2 separate regions of the Homo sapiens genome follow, and region 2 is linked to region 1. The links are contacts of gene promoters, found by promoter capture Hi-C in human tissues and cell types (Jung and others, 2019). All regions are on one chromosome and are shown on one strand. Each heading gives the region's core, a stretch centred on a gene start or on the middle of the fragment in contact. The rest is flanking DNA. Distances are from core to core; before and after follow the strand shown. Region 1 holds the start of RBM47 (RNA binding motif protein 47). Region 2 has its middle 39 kb from the start of RBM47-AS1.

The links. Contacts are between HindIII fragments. The study calls those that stand out against the background at their distance.
Region 2: a contact is called between a fragment that was not itself captured here and the fragment with the promoter of RBM47 in region 1, in 2 of the 25 tissues and cell types used here (IMR-90 fibroblasts and heart left ventricle).

The regions. Positions count from the first base shown.
Region 1 is chr4:40,627,330-40,633,675 of GRCh38, forward strand. RBM47 (RNA binding motif protein 47) reads right to left here and starts at 2,535. Exons shown (of 7, transcript NM_001098634.2): 1 at 2,067-2,535. RefSeq lists enhancers at 1,392-2,268, 2,269-3,146, 2,329-2,398. The HindIII fragment of the contact is 13,848 bases long and covers 1-6,346 here.
Region 2 is chr4:40,383,905-40,390,250 of GRCh38, forward strand. No RefSeq gene overlaps it. Among named protein-coding and RNA genes, the nearest start is that of RBM47-AS1, 39 kb to the right of the region's middle. The HindIII fragment of the contact is 4,161 bases long and covers 1,357-5,517 here.

The DNA.
Region 1 (6,346 bases), core at 1,285-3,784:
TTTTTTTTCCCCAGAATTATGTATCTTCTGGGATTACCTAATCACAGTTTCACTTGAGCCTGGGTCCAATTTTAAGAAAATCTCCCTCCCTTCACGCTTATATCCACTCCCCTGACCTTTTCTGAAAAATCAAGAGACTTAAGATGTGGAGGCGGAAACTTACTGAAATAGCCAAATGCTTTTCTATAGCAATGAAAGCTCAGTCATTTGGGACATGATTTAATCTTGAGCTTCAGAGCAGAATTTGAAAAGCAAATTAAATCCTTTTGTAAGAAAATAATTTCATCTTAACCCAATCTTTTAAAAAATCATTACCTAGAACAGTAAACCAAATAGTCTAATATGAATGTTCTTATCATGTGAGGAAAAAAATGAGTAGTCTTTAACACTAGTTAGAGCAAGTCTATAGAACACGTGTCCAGAAGCATGTAGTTCCCTTGCTTTCTGTCTTTATTTCATCCTCAGTATCACTACTGCTTTGGGCAGAATTCTTTCAAAATTTAATTTAAAGCAGCACAGTGGGGGAATCAAAAATAAATATGTTGACTATTAAAAATATAGAGATTGGTAAAAAAAATGATGATGATGAATTCTCAATCCTACAAACTTCTGTAAACGCAAAAACCAAGAGGAAGATAATAAATCTTTAATAATTGATTGATATTCAGAATATCTTGATCTAATTAATTTAAAGCATGGCCTACCTAGCCAGGTAAAGGACGGCACAGCTAGGCTTATTTCTTCATTTGACACATACTGAAAGTTAATAATGAAGCTAGGTGCTTGGGAAATTTCTGAGACCCCATCCTTCCAGCATGCAATAATTAAGTCAAAGAGGCCAACAGTGTGTATATCAGAACAAGGTGAAGGGTAAAGCAGACCAGAAAAAAATATTAAAAACCAAACCATCTCCTCCTTTCTTTTTTTCCTTCTGTTTTCCTTTCAGACTGGGTTGATTTTAGTTCCCTCCAAGACTTCAAGTCATTGATCTAACAAAGATCATTGTTTAAATTAATAGCAACACAAACTCCCACAAAGTGATCTCTTCTTATGCTCTAGGTTGAGTACTTTGGTTTATCTAGAGGTTGTGTGTTACGCCGCTGACCACCTTTCACCTTTTAGAATCGGCACCTGCAATTCTCAAATGCTCTGGATCTAATTGCCAACCTTTTGAGCTCAAAACTTCGGCAACTCCTTCATGTTGGGTTGTCAACCCTTTGCTTTCCCTCCCCTGAGAAATTCGTATGACCTTGCCTTAAAACTTTTAAAGAATACATTTTAAAATCTATATTCCTGCTAAAGAAAACAGTGAGTCATTAAAATACCACCAGATAAAAAAAAAAGGTTTGATTTTTAGTTCAGGTCGGTAATGGCCTGTAAGTACCTTGAAGATGGTATCTTCCTATCACTTATGCCTTGGGACAGTACCCAAGAGTGGCTGAACTTTTACCTAATTAAAAAATGAGTCATTTATTTGAAAAATTCCACTTCCATTTATTTTATCTGATTTCTTAAATATCCGGTCAACTGCTAATTTGTCAGATGTCATAATTCGTCAGTCCTACCCTTTTCTACAGGCTGAATTTTTAATTTGAAACAACTACACCTCTACCGAGTGTTACTTTCAGACGTAAATTACTGCAGGAAGACCCCCCTCTGCCTTGGTTAACACTTAAATGAGATGCCTCCTGTCCAGGACGCTTCCTCAGTCTCACTGTAATAATCTGAGTCTAAAGTCACCTGTGCTTCTGGGCGGTCCAATCATGTATTTTCAAGAGTGAAAAAAAAAAATCAGTTTCTTTTATGGGAAAAGATTCATCACTACAGGAAACACGATGGGACTGACTGTATATGATTATCTGCCTTCCCAGAGGTTGACCCTTTTAAAACCGTTTTATAAACCCTTTATTTCCCACTAAATATACCAAGAGACAGAAGATGAGTGATAGCATGAGGGATAAGAGCTAAAGAGAGAAGAATAAGAAAAAAATATACACTTCAAAAATTGGGACCCAAATGTAAGATTAAGGGACAATAGTTAGAAGGACTACCAAAAACCACCTTACCTTTCCTTGTTAAGTTTTTGGAGCCGCCCACTTCAGAAATTAACACCATTCACAGCCCAGGAGCAACTTAACACAGCTAGGAAGTCACCTACAACATCTTCTCGTCCGCCTTCTTTTTAATGTAAAACCAAAATAAGGAGTGTCCAGCGACTCCCCACCGCGCCGCTTAAAGCAACAGAGCGTTTTAGGCTTAACTCCCAGGCTCTGGGAATTCCAGTGGGTCAGAATTGCTTAACCTTGGAGACTTGCAGAGAGAAAGTCTCCAGGAGGACCGCTCCCCAAACCCTGGTTTCTCTCTATCCCAAGCTGCACATTCCACAGTGGAAAGCGGGAGCGGCGACCCGAAGGCAGCGAAGTTCTCTCGGGCTCAGCTCCCGAGGCCGGGAGCGCGCGGCGGTTCCACCCGCAGAGCGGCGCCGCGTCCCGGCTGCGTGGGGCGCTGCGCACGGGAGCGCTCAGCGTCTAGTCTGCGGGCCCTTCCCGGTTCCCTCCCTCTCTCCTCCCGCCGCCCGCCCCCTGCCGAGGCCATCCGCCTCACAGTAGCAAGGTTGTCTCTCGTCTACTCCCTTCCCTTAAACTCACCAAACCAGATTTTTACTCCCAACACCGGCAACTTCCCGTAAATCTGCCCTGAAATTTTATCCTGCTGGCTGAGCCTCCCCTGGCTAAAGGCCAGTGCCACATTCCTGTTGTTTTTTAGGAGCGCAGATACCTTTGCTGAAGGTTCAAAGAAAATCGGCCTTGATGGCAGAGATTGGGGGACTTGACCAGACGGACTTCTCTCCCCGCCCCAAAAGTCACATGCCTTTCAGACACCCAGAAGTGGCACCTGCTCCACCTGGGGGCATCTGTCCGAGTCAGACGCTCGGCCCCCTTCGGGCTGCTCCGAGAAACCCAGCCAGAACCACGTTGGAGAAATTAGGAACCTGCTGCTGAATTTCAAGCCGATCGGAACCGCCCCGCTCCCCTTCTTCCCCCCATAAACAAGTCGCTGGACGAGGTGGGATCTCTGCGACCCCCGCGTGCCCGGGGAGAGCTCCCGGGGCGAGCTCCCGGGGCGTCCTTACCTGGGGCCGAGCATGGCTTGGCCGCGCGCAGGCAGGAGCGTCACGCGGACGGGGCCCTGACCTTTGCCGGGGCCTTCGCAGCAGGGCCTGGGGCCTGGGCGCTGCTCGTTCAGAAGTGGCTCATTTTAGTGCGCTCTGACCTAGAGTTACGGAGGGTTTCTAGAAAGGGAACAAAAAAACACTGCATTTAGAAACAGCAGCCAAGCCCTCGCTTCACCTTGCCTGCTCTCTGGGGAGTTGGCTCGAACCCCCACCCCATCCCAATTCCCAAGAAACCCAGATGTCCGCAATCCGCGCCCCACCCCCTCCGCCTTACCTGTTTATACAAGAGTTAAGGAGCCTCCCGCATTTCAGTGGAGCGCTAAGCCTGTTTGTAGGCGCGGAATGGGCCAACAGGAATCGAATTCTGTGACTAAACAAACTAGAAGAGGAAGCAGGCACCACCAGGAACCTAAAACAGAGTTGTGATTTCGGGTTGCAGTGTCATTCAGCTGAGGGGAAAGAAAAAAATACCGGGCTACTTTAGTGAAAGAATGTTCCAAAAATGGTTCTTTGCTGGTTGAGTTAACACATGCAAAGAGCTTAGAACGGTGCCTAGCACACAGTGTTAGCTGCCGTTATTGTTGTTGTTATTCTTCTTATTATTATTTACATTATGGCTTTTTTCTGAAGAAGAGTGTGTGGTCAGAGTTAGACATGGGCTGTAGCACCAGCATTGCCACTCACCAGCTGTGAGGCCATGAGCAAGATATTTAATCTCTCCCAGCCTCAGTTTCTGGAAGATTCTAACGATGGGATTTTTACAAACAGTTTATATTCATTGCTGACAGTCTTGAATACAATGGGAAATAAAGTCCCTGTAAAGGGTAGCCAACTGAATTTCATCTCACTTAAAAGTTACAAGATTGACAACAGAAATGGAGATAAATTTGCCTGCATTCCATGAAGCTCACTAACGGGAAGGAAATTCAGGGCCCAGCAATCACCCATCTGCTATGCTTAATTCTCATTTGTATTTTGGCACTTGACCTGGTGTCTTACCCTGGGATAGTTACTTATCCCAGACTGGGCCGGACAAATAATGACCCTTGCCGTTTGAAAAGCAGTATGAAAGAGAGGGAAATGATTTTGAAACTCCTCATAAATATTAAAAAGTGATTATTGAAGGCTAAAATGTTATCAGTGCCTCCACCCTTTATCCTCCATTTAACTTCACATTTAAAGAAAGAAATCATAATCCCTTTCCATTAGTGAGGCCCTTTCTACTTTATGGAGCACTTTCACCCTTCTTACTTTATGTGATCCTTACAAAATGATCCTATGAGCTATTTTGTCCCCATTTTGCAGATGAAGACACTGAGATCACACAGGTTAAGTGTAAGTCCAAGGTGGTGAGGCCAGGACTGGTTCTCAGTTCTAGTTAATTTTTTTTTAAGTTGAAAAATCAAACTGGATTTATTAAAATATATATAAATAACCCTCATTTTTCTTTATTTCATCAGTATTGGAAAGTTAAGTGAAAATTAATTAAAAAGTAGTAGTCCTAAGAGAGAGAAACAAAGGCTGAAGGGGTATCAAGAAAACCATAAATTTAAAAAGCAGCATTTGCCACCTTTGGGAAAAATGATTCCTTAAAACCAGCAAAGCATTCTGGAACATTTTAAATCCTTCTGATCTTTTATCTTCTCATGAGGCAAAATTTAACCCAGACAAATTCAACATTTCCTGTGTTTTAGGTTCATTCTTTGTCGATACCAGCCAGCATGTACTGTGAACAGCAGGCAGTGGGAACTCTCTTAGCTAAGTTCCCTCACCAGACCTAAGGGTTGATGCTGCCAGGCACAAACAACGGCTCCACCCCCTTAAGACAACTAAAAAACCCAGCTCCATATTAGCCTGAAATTTTCTTTTCTTTTCCAGAAGTATCTGGATTATGGCCTCAAAAAAGGCTCGCTGTCACAGACTGTCTGAGCTGAAGGATTCTAGAGGGGACATTCTCGCTGGGCACGGTGGCTCACGCCTGTAATCCCCACACTTTGGGAGGTCGAGGCAGGCAGATAACCTGAGGTCAGGAGTTCCAGATGAGCCTGGCCAACGTGGCGAAACCCCGTCTCTACTAAAAATACAAAAATTGGCTGGGCATGGTGGCAGGCACCTGTAATTCTAGCCACTCGGGAGGCTGAGGCGGGAGAATGGCTTGAACCCGGGAGGTGAAGTTTGCAGGGAGCCGAGATCGCGCCACTGCACTCCGGCCTGGGCGAAAGAGCAAGACTCCGTCTCAAAAAAAAAAATAAACACATAAATAAATTTAAAAAATGATAAAAATAAAAGAAATTTGAAAGTGTGGAGGTCAGTGACTCCAGGTGAACTGGAACTGGAGTCAGGGAAAACTCCTGCTTGAGGAGGCTCAGGTTCCACTTCAGGAAGTGAGTCCTCATCTCAAAGAGGGTCAGTTACCCTTTTTCAGATGTTGCCTGCTCCTTCTTCAGTTTTGCCCACTGACACCTATGAAATGGGTATATCCTTTCTTTCTTTTTTTGCACTCCATATCCGCTGGAGAAATGGGTATAATTCTTGTTCCTATTTCTCACTGCCCTCCCCGGGAACATGACAAAAATAAAACAGATTTTTCTAAGTGGCAGGCTATAGCAAAACAAATGTGAACTTTTATTATTTCTTTTTTGTGGCTAACCTTGGCGCCTGTTTTATTATTATTATAATTATTTTAATTCTTAGGCCCACTCCATTTTCCTGGGGCATTTTAGTTTTCTAGACCCTTGTCTTTTACTTTCTGTTTTCTTCTTTTCCTTCTGCCTATGAGGCAATGTTCCGGAGTGAGTGCAAACAGCATGAAAATTAGTTTCCAATAGATTTGAGTTTGAATCTCAATTTCTTCTCTGAGCTATGTGATGTTGGACAAATTGCTTAATCGCTTTGAGTTTTAGTGTCTTCATTTATAAATTAATAACAGCTATCTTTCTGGATTTCTTTTTGTTTGTTTTTTCCGAGATGGAGTCTCACTCTATTGCCCAGGCAGGAGTGCAATGGCACAATCTCGGTTCACTGCAACCTCTGCCTCCCAGGTTCAAGTGATTCTCCTGCCTCAGTCTCCCGAGTAGCTGGGATTACAGGCACGCAGCACCACGCCCAGCTAATTTTTGTATTTTTTTGTTAGTAGAGAGGGGGTTTCACCATGTTGGTCAGGCTGGTCTT
Region 2 (6,346 bases), core at 2,187-4,686, 240 kb before region 1:
AATCCCAGCACTTTGGGAGGCCAAGGTGGGCGGATCACAAGGTCAGGAGATCGAGACCATCCTGGCTAACACGGTGAAACCCCGTCTCTCCTAAAAATACAAAAAATTAACCAGGCGTGGTGGCAGGCACCTGTAATCCCGGCTACTTGGGAGGCTGAGGCAGAAGAATTGCTTGAACCTGGGAGGTAGAGTTGCAGCGAGCCGAGATCACGCCACTGCACTCCAGCCTGGGCAACAGAGCGAGACTCTGTTTAAAAAAAAAAAAAAAAAAAATTAAAACAATTGAACTCAGGGAGATAGAGAATAGAGTGATGATTCCCAGAGGCTGGGAAGGGTAATGGGGATAGAGGGAAGAGGGAAGTGGGGTGGTTAATGGATACACAAATATAGTTACATAGAATTAATAAGATCTAGTATTTGATAATACATCAATTTATTGTACATTTAAAAACAGCCAAAAGAGTATAATTGGATTGCTTGTAACACAAAGAAAGGATAAATGCTTGAGGTGATGGATATCCCATTTACCCTGATGGGATTATTATAAATTGCATGCCTGTATCAAAATATTTCATGTACTCTCATAAATATATATGTCTACTATACACCCACAGAAATAAAAAAATTAAAATTAAAAATAATTTTTAAATCTCACATATACAGAATAAAAACCCAAGTAAGACTGGGTGCAGTGGCTCATACCTGTAATCCCAGTACTTTGGGAGGCCAAGGTGGGAGAATCACTTGAGGCCATGAGTTCAAGAGCAGCCTGAGGAACGTAACAAAATCCCCATCTCCAAAAAAATTTTTTTTTTTTGAGACGGAGTCTCGCTCTGTCACCCAGGCTGGAGTGCAGTAGCGCAATCTCAGCTCACTGCAAGCTCTGCCTCCCAGGTTCACACCATTCTCCTGCCTCAACCTCCTGAGTAGCTGGGACTACAGGTGCCCACCACCATGCCTGGTTAATTTTTTGTATTTTTAGTAGAGACAGGGTTTCACCATGTTAGCCAGGATGGTCTCGATCTCCTGACCTCGTGCTCCTGCCTGTCTCGGCCTCCCAAAGTGCTGGGATTACAGGTGTGAGCCACCTTTCCCGGCCTCTAAAAAAATTTAAAAGAAAATTAGCCAGGAGTAGTGGCATGAGACTACAGTCCCAGCTACTGAGAAGGCTGAGGGAGTGAGATCACTTCCTAGGAGGCTGAGGCTGCAGTGAGCTATGATTACACCAATGCACTCCAGCCTGGGCAACAGAGCAAGACCTTCTCTCAAACAAAACAAAACAAAACACCCAAGTAGGGAGGCTTGCATATATCCTCTTAACTTCCAAATGACAGAGGAATAGAAAGCAATGCTAAAGTAGCCAGGCATGGTGGTGCGTGCCTGTGGTCCTAGCTACTCAGGAGGATGAGGCAGGAGGATCACTTGAGCCCAGGAAAACGAGGTTGCAGTGAGCTGAGATCATGCCACTGCACACCAGCCTGGGCAACAGAGTGAGGCTCTGTCTGAAATAAAGAAGGAAAGAAAAAGAAAGGAAGAAAGGGAGGAAGGAAGGAAGAAAGGGAGGGAGGGAAGGAAGGAAGGAAGGAGGGAGAGAAGGAAGAAGGGAGGTAAGAAATGCTGCCAATCAGGAGTAGGAGAGGCCAAATCAGTGCGTGATGAGATCAAGTTGCTGTGGGCAGGGAAGTGGGCTGTGAGTTCAGGAGATTCCCAAGGAGCTAACCAGGAAAATTACAAAAAATGGGGAGATCCTTAATGTGGCTTGAAGGAAGAAGAGAAGAGAAGCCTTTGGGGCAGGGGTTTGATTGTCCACAGATCGGATAAGAGAATTGGGGAGCAGGTATGTAGTGATCATAAAACAAGGCAGGTAATGAGAAATGCACTGTATAGACTAAGAGGGCACCTCCATTGGTCAGATTTTATCGTTTGCTTTTTCATTGCCTCTCTGGGAAGTGTAAGGTGGTCATTGAGTAGGAGCAGCTGATTTCATCTTTTTACATAGTAACTTGATTAACATGTTTTCTGTGTAATTTTTGTCAGCATTGGTGAGGGGAGGGGAGGCCAGGGGAGGGAAGGAGAGGGGAGGGAAGGAGAGGGGAGGGAGGCTCAGTGGGGCTCAGTAAGATATGTACTCTCATGCCTTGCTGCAGGAAATGTAAATTAGTACAACCTCTTTGGCAAGCAACTTGGCAATATGTCTCAAAACAGCTTAAAAATGGCCATCCAGTTGGGTGCAAACTTTGGAGCAGTATCTTATAGAAATAAATGATCAAAAATGTGACTAATGAAAGGGAGGCCATCAGTGTTGTATATATGAGTAAAAAAAGCATAACATATTAAAAAGACTATAAAGAAACTCATAAAATTTTGAGCAGTTGTTATATCTAAGGAGGGGGATTACGAGAAATTATTATTATTATTATTATTTTTGAGACAGAGTTTCACTCTTGTTGTCCCGGCTGGAGTGCAGTGGTGCGATCTCGGCTCACTGCAACCTCCGCCTCCCAGGTTCAAGTGATTCTACTGCCTCAGCCTCCTGAGTAGCTGGGATTACAGGCATGTGCCACCATGCCCGGCTAATTTTGTATTTTTAGTATGGACAGTGTTTCTCCATGTTGGTCAGGCTGATCTCGAACTCCCGACCTCAGGTGATCCACCCACCTCGGCCTCCCAAAGTGCTAGGATTACAGGCGTGAGCCACTGCACCCAGCCTAAGAAATTATTGACTTCATTTTCCTTTTTTTATTTTGAGATGGAGTCTTGCTCTGTCACCCAGGCTGGAGTGCAATGGTGCGATCTTGGCTCACTGCAACCTCCGCCTCCTAGGTTCAAGCCATTCTCCTGCCTCAGCTTCCCATGTAGCTGGGACTACAGGCATGTGACACCATGCCCAGCTAATTTTTGGTATTTTTAGTAGAGACGGGGTTTTACCATGTTGGCCAGGCTGGAGTCAAACTCCTGACCTCAAGTGATCCACCCACCTTGGCCTCCCAAAGTGCTGGGATTACAGGCGTGAGCCACCGTGCCCAGCCTTCATTTTACTTTTAAGATATTCCTGTTCTGTGAGTTATCAGAAGTAATAAAAATTTTAAAAATGTTTTTCTAAATTTCTCCAGTATGTTACTTGTAAGAAAAATGTATTTATTTATTTATTTGTTTGTTTTTTTGTTTCTTTAGAGACAGGATCTTGCTCTGTCACCCAGCTAGAGTGCAGTGGCACAGTCACGGCTCACTGCAGCCTCAACCTCCAAGGCTTAAGAGATCCTCCTGCCTCAGCCTCTCAAGTAGATGGGACCACAGGTGTGTGCCACTGCATCTGGCTAATTAATTTTTTTTTTTTTTTGTAGAGATAGAATCTCCCTATGTTGCCCAGGCTAGTCTCGAGCTTCTGGGCCCGAGTGATCATCCTGTCTCGGCCTCCCAAAGTGCTGGGATTATAGGTGTGAGCAACTGCCTGGCCAAGAAAAATAAATGTAAAAATAAATGGATTTTTAGGGCAGCAAAATATTCTGTATGATACTGTAATGGTGGATACATGCTATTATACATTCGTCCAGACCCACAGAATGTACACCACCAAGAGTGAACTCTGATGTAAACTGTGGACTTTGGGTGACGATGAACTATCAATGTGGGTTTATGCGTAACAGACGGACCCCTCTGGAAGGGAATGTTGATACACTGGGGACTATGCATGTGTATGGGGAGGGGTATGTGGGAACTCTCTATAGCTTCCTTTGAATTTTGCTGTGAGTGTAAAACTGCTTTAAAAAAAAATCCTACTGGGAGTGGTGGCTCATGCCTGTAATTCCAGCATTTTGGGAGGCTGAGGCTGGCACATGGTTTGAGGCCAGGAGTTTGAGACCAGCCTGGCCAATATGGTGAAACTCTGTCTCTACTAAAATTACAAAAATTAGCTGGGCACGGTGGCACACAACTGTAGTCTGAGCTATCTCGAGAAGCTGAGGCAGGAGAATCGCTTGAACCCGGGAGACAGAGGTTGCAGTGGGCCAAGATTGCATCACTGCACTCCAGCCTGGGTGACAGAGTGAGACTCTGTCTCAAAAAATGCAGGAGGCGGAGGTTGCAGTGAGCCGAGATCACGCCATTGCACTCCAGCCTAGGCGACAGAGCGAGGCGCCATCTCAAAAAGAAAAAGAAAAAGTGTACTAGTGCCCTCAGTTGTATTTATCTTGGTTGATGAAAACCTGTTTAGTCTTATGGACCCAGAAGAGAAGGTGTTTGAGCCAACATTTTCTCAGAAAAGGATCATTCATTTGTTCATTCATTCCCAGCTCCTCCTCTGTGTCAAGCACTGTTTTAGGCACTGGGGATGCACCTATGAGCAAATCAGGAGACCTCTCTGTCATGATGGAGCTTATGTTCTCCAGGGGATGAGACTCAATAGTCAACAGAGCAATGAAGAACAATGAAGCAGGGCCGTGGAGACAGAGAGTGATGGGGAGAGGTGTGTGTGCTCCTTTAGACAGAGTGCTTGGGAAAGGCCTCTTAATGAAGAGTTATGTGAACACAGACCTGAAGGAGGCGGGGGAGTGAGCCATGTGGCTGTCTTGAGGAAATGCTTTCTAAGCAGAGGGAACCGCAAACGTAAAGACCCCAAGGACAAGCTTGCTGCGTGTGATTGAGGCACAGAGAGGAGGCCAGTGTGGCTGGAGATGAGGTTAGAGAGTTAGGGGAGGGTTGGACCGTGTGCAGGTCTACAGGTCTTTTTTTTTTTTTTAACTAAAAACAAAACAACAACAACAACAAAAGTGAAAAGAGTATTGAGCTTGGAGTCAGAAATCCTGGCTTCAAGTCCCTGTTCCGTCACTGGCTAGCTGTGTAATAATCTCAAAAAATGCACTCTACTATTCTGAGCATCCATTTTCCCAACTGCAGAATGCCAGTGGCAAGGGAAGACTGTAAATGCCGTAATACATGTGAAAGTTTTCACAGCCTGGAAAATGCTCTCTCTCTGTAAGGGATTGCAACCACTGTGAAAGGATGCAAAATAACCTTTCATAGTTAGTGAACCAAAGCGCGAGTCAATAGAACTCCAAACTTCAATCTCTAGGACTTTTCATAAATGGAGAGACTACCAAAGGAAAATAATAAAGCAGCCAAATGCATGATGACTCTTCGAGACTGCCCCGTTGCCAGTCTTTCCGGTTCTTTTTCTGTGATGAATTGTTCTGGAAGTATAGAGTTCAGTGACATTATTCCCTTTTGCAGATGAGAGGAGTGGCTTTGATATCAAAGAGCAGGCCCAAGAACTGGGAGAAGAAAGATGGTTAAGTACATTCAATCATTCTGTAAGAGTGATTACTAGATTTAAATTGCGTTGGAACATATTTTGTTCAATTGTTTTAAAAGAATTTGATTTACCCTCAAATACGACCATCAGGAAAACAGGGTGGAAAAAACATAAACACTGGAAAAAGACACTTAGCACACCTGCTAAAGAAGCCCATGTGATACTGGGATACAGAATCATAAACATTTTAATATTTGTGAACACCATGTTTTTCCATATTTACTTCATTTGACTTTGTTTCTGATAACTCTAACTTTGCTAGTGTCCTCACAATCCGACTCCCCATCTTCCATTTCACTTTTCTAAGAAGAGGTCTCAGCCAGCCTGGCCAACATGGTGAAACCCTGTCTTTATTAAAAATACAAAAATTAGCTGGGTGTGGTGGCAGGCTCATGTAATCTCAGCTACTCGGGAGGCTGAGGCAGGAGAATCGCTTGAACTCAGGAGGCGGTGGTTACGGTGAGCGGAGATCACGCCGCTGCACTCCAGCCTGGGTGACAGAGTGAGACTGTCTCAAAAAAATAAAATAAAATAAAAAAGTGTACAGACTTAGAATTAAAGAGCAGAAGACAGAACTTCTCAGATTTACAAAACAACAAAAATGACAACAATATCAATAAAACCATCTTTCCCAATTCCATCCAGTAATATGTTATCTACAAGAGATGTATTTAAAACAAAAGGGTATAGAAAATTTGAAAATAAGGAATTAAATACCACAAGTAAGGTAAACCAGAAGAAAGCTAGGGTAGCAACAGATAAAATAGAATTTAAGATGAGAAATGATCATGAGGGACACGGGGCACTTTAAATGTTGGTTAAAAGAACTGTAAATCAAGAATCATGAACAAATATGCACCTAAGATAGCCTTGGAACACATAAAGCAATAATTCACAGAATGGTAAGCATTTAAACATCTCCCAAAGAGACAGATAAATCAAGCAGGCTTTGGTGATGATCAAGCTGACCTGAGCTCATATCCCTTTTCCAGCACTTACTGGCTATGTGACTTCATTACGTTATTTAGGCTCTGC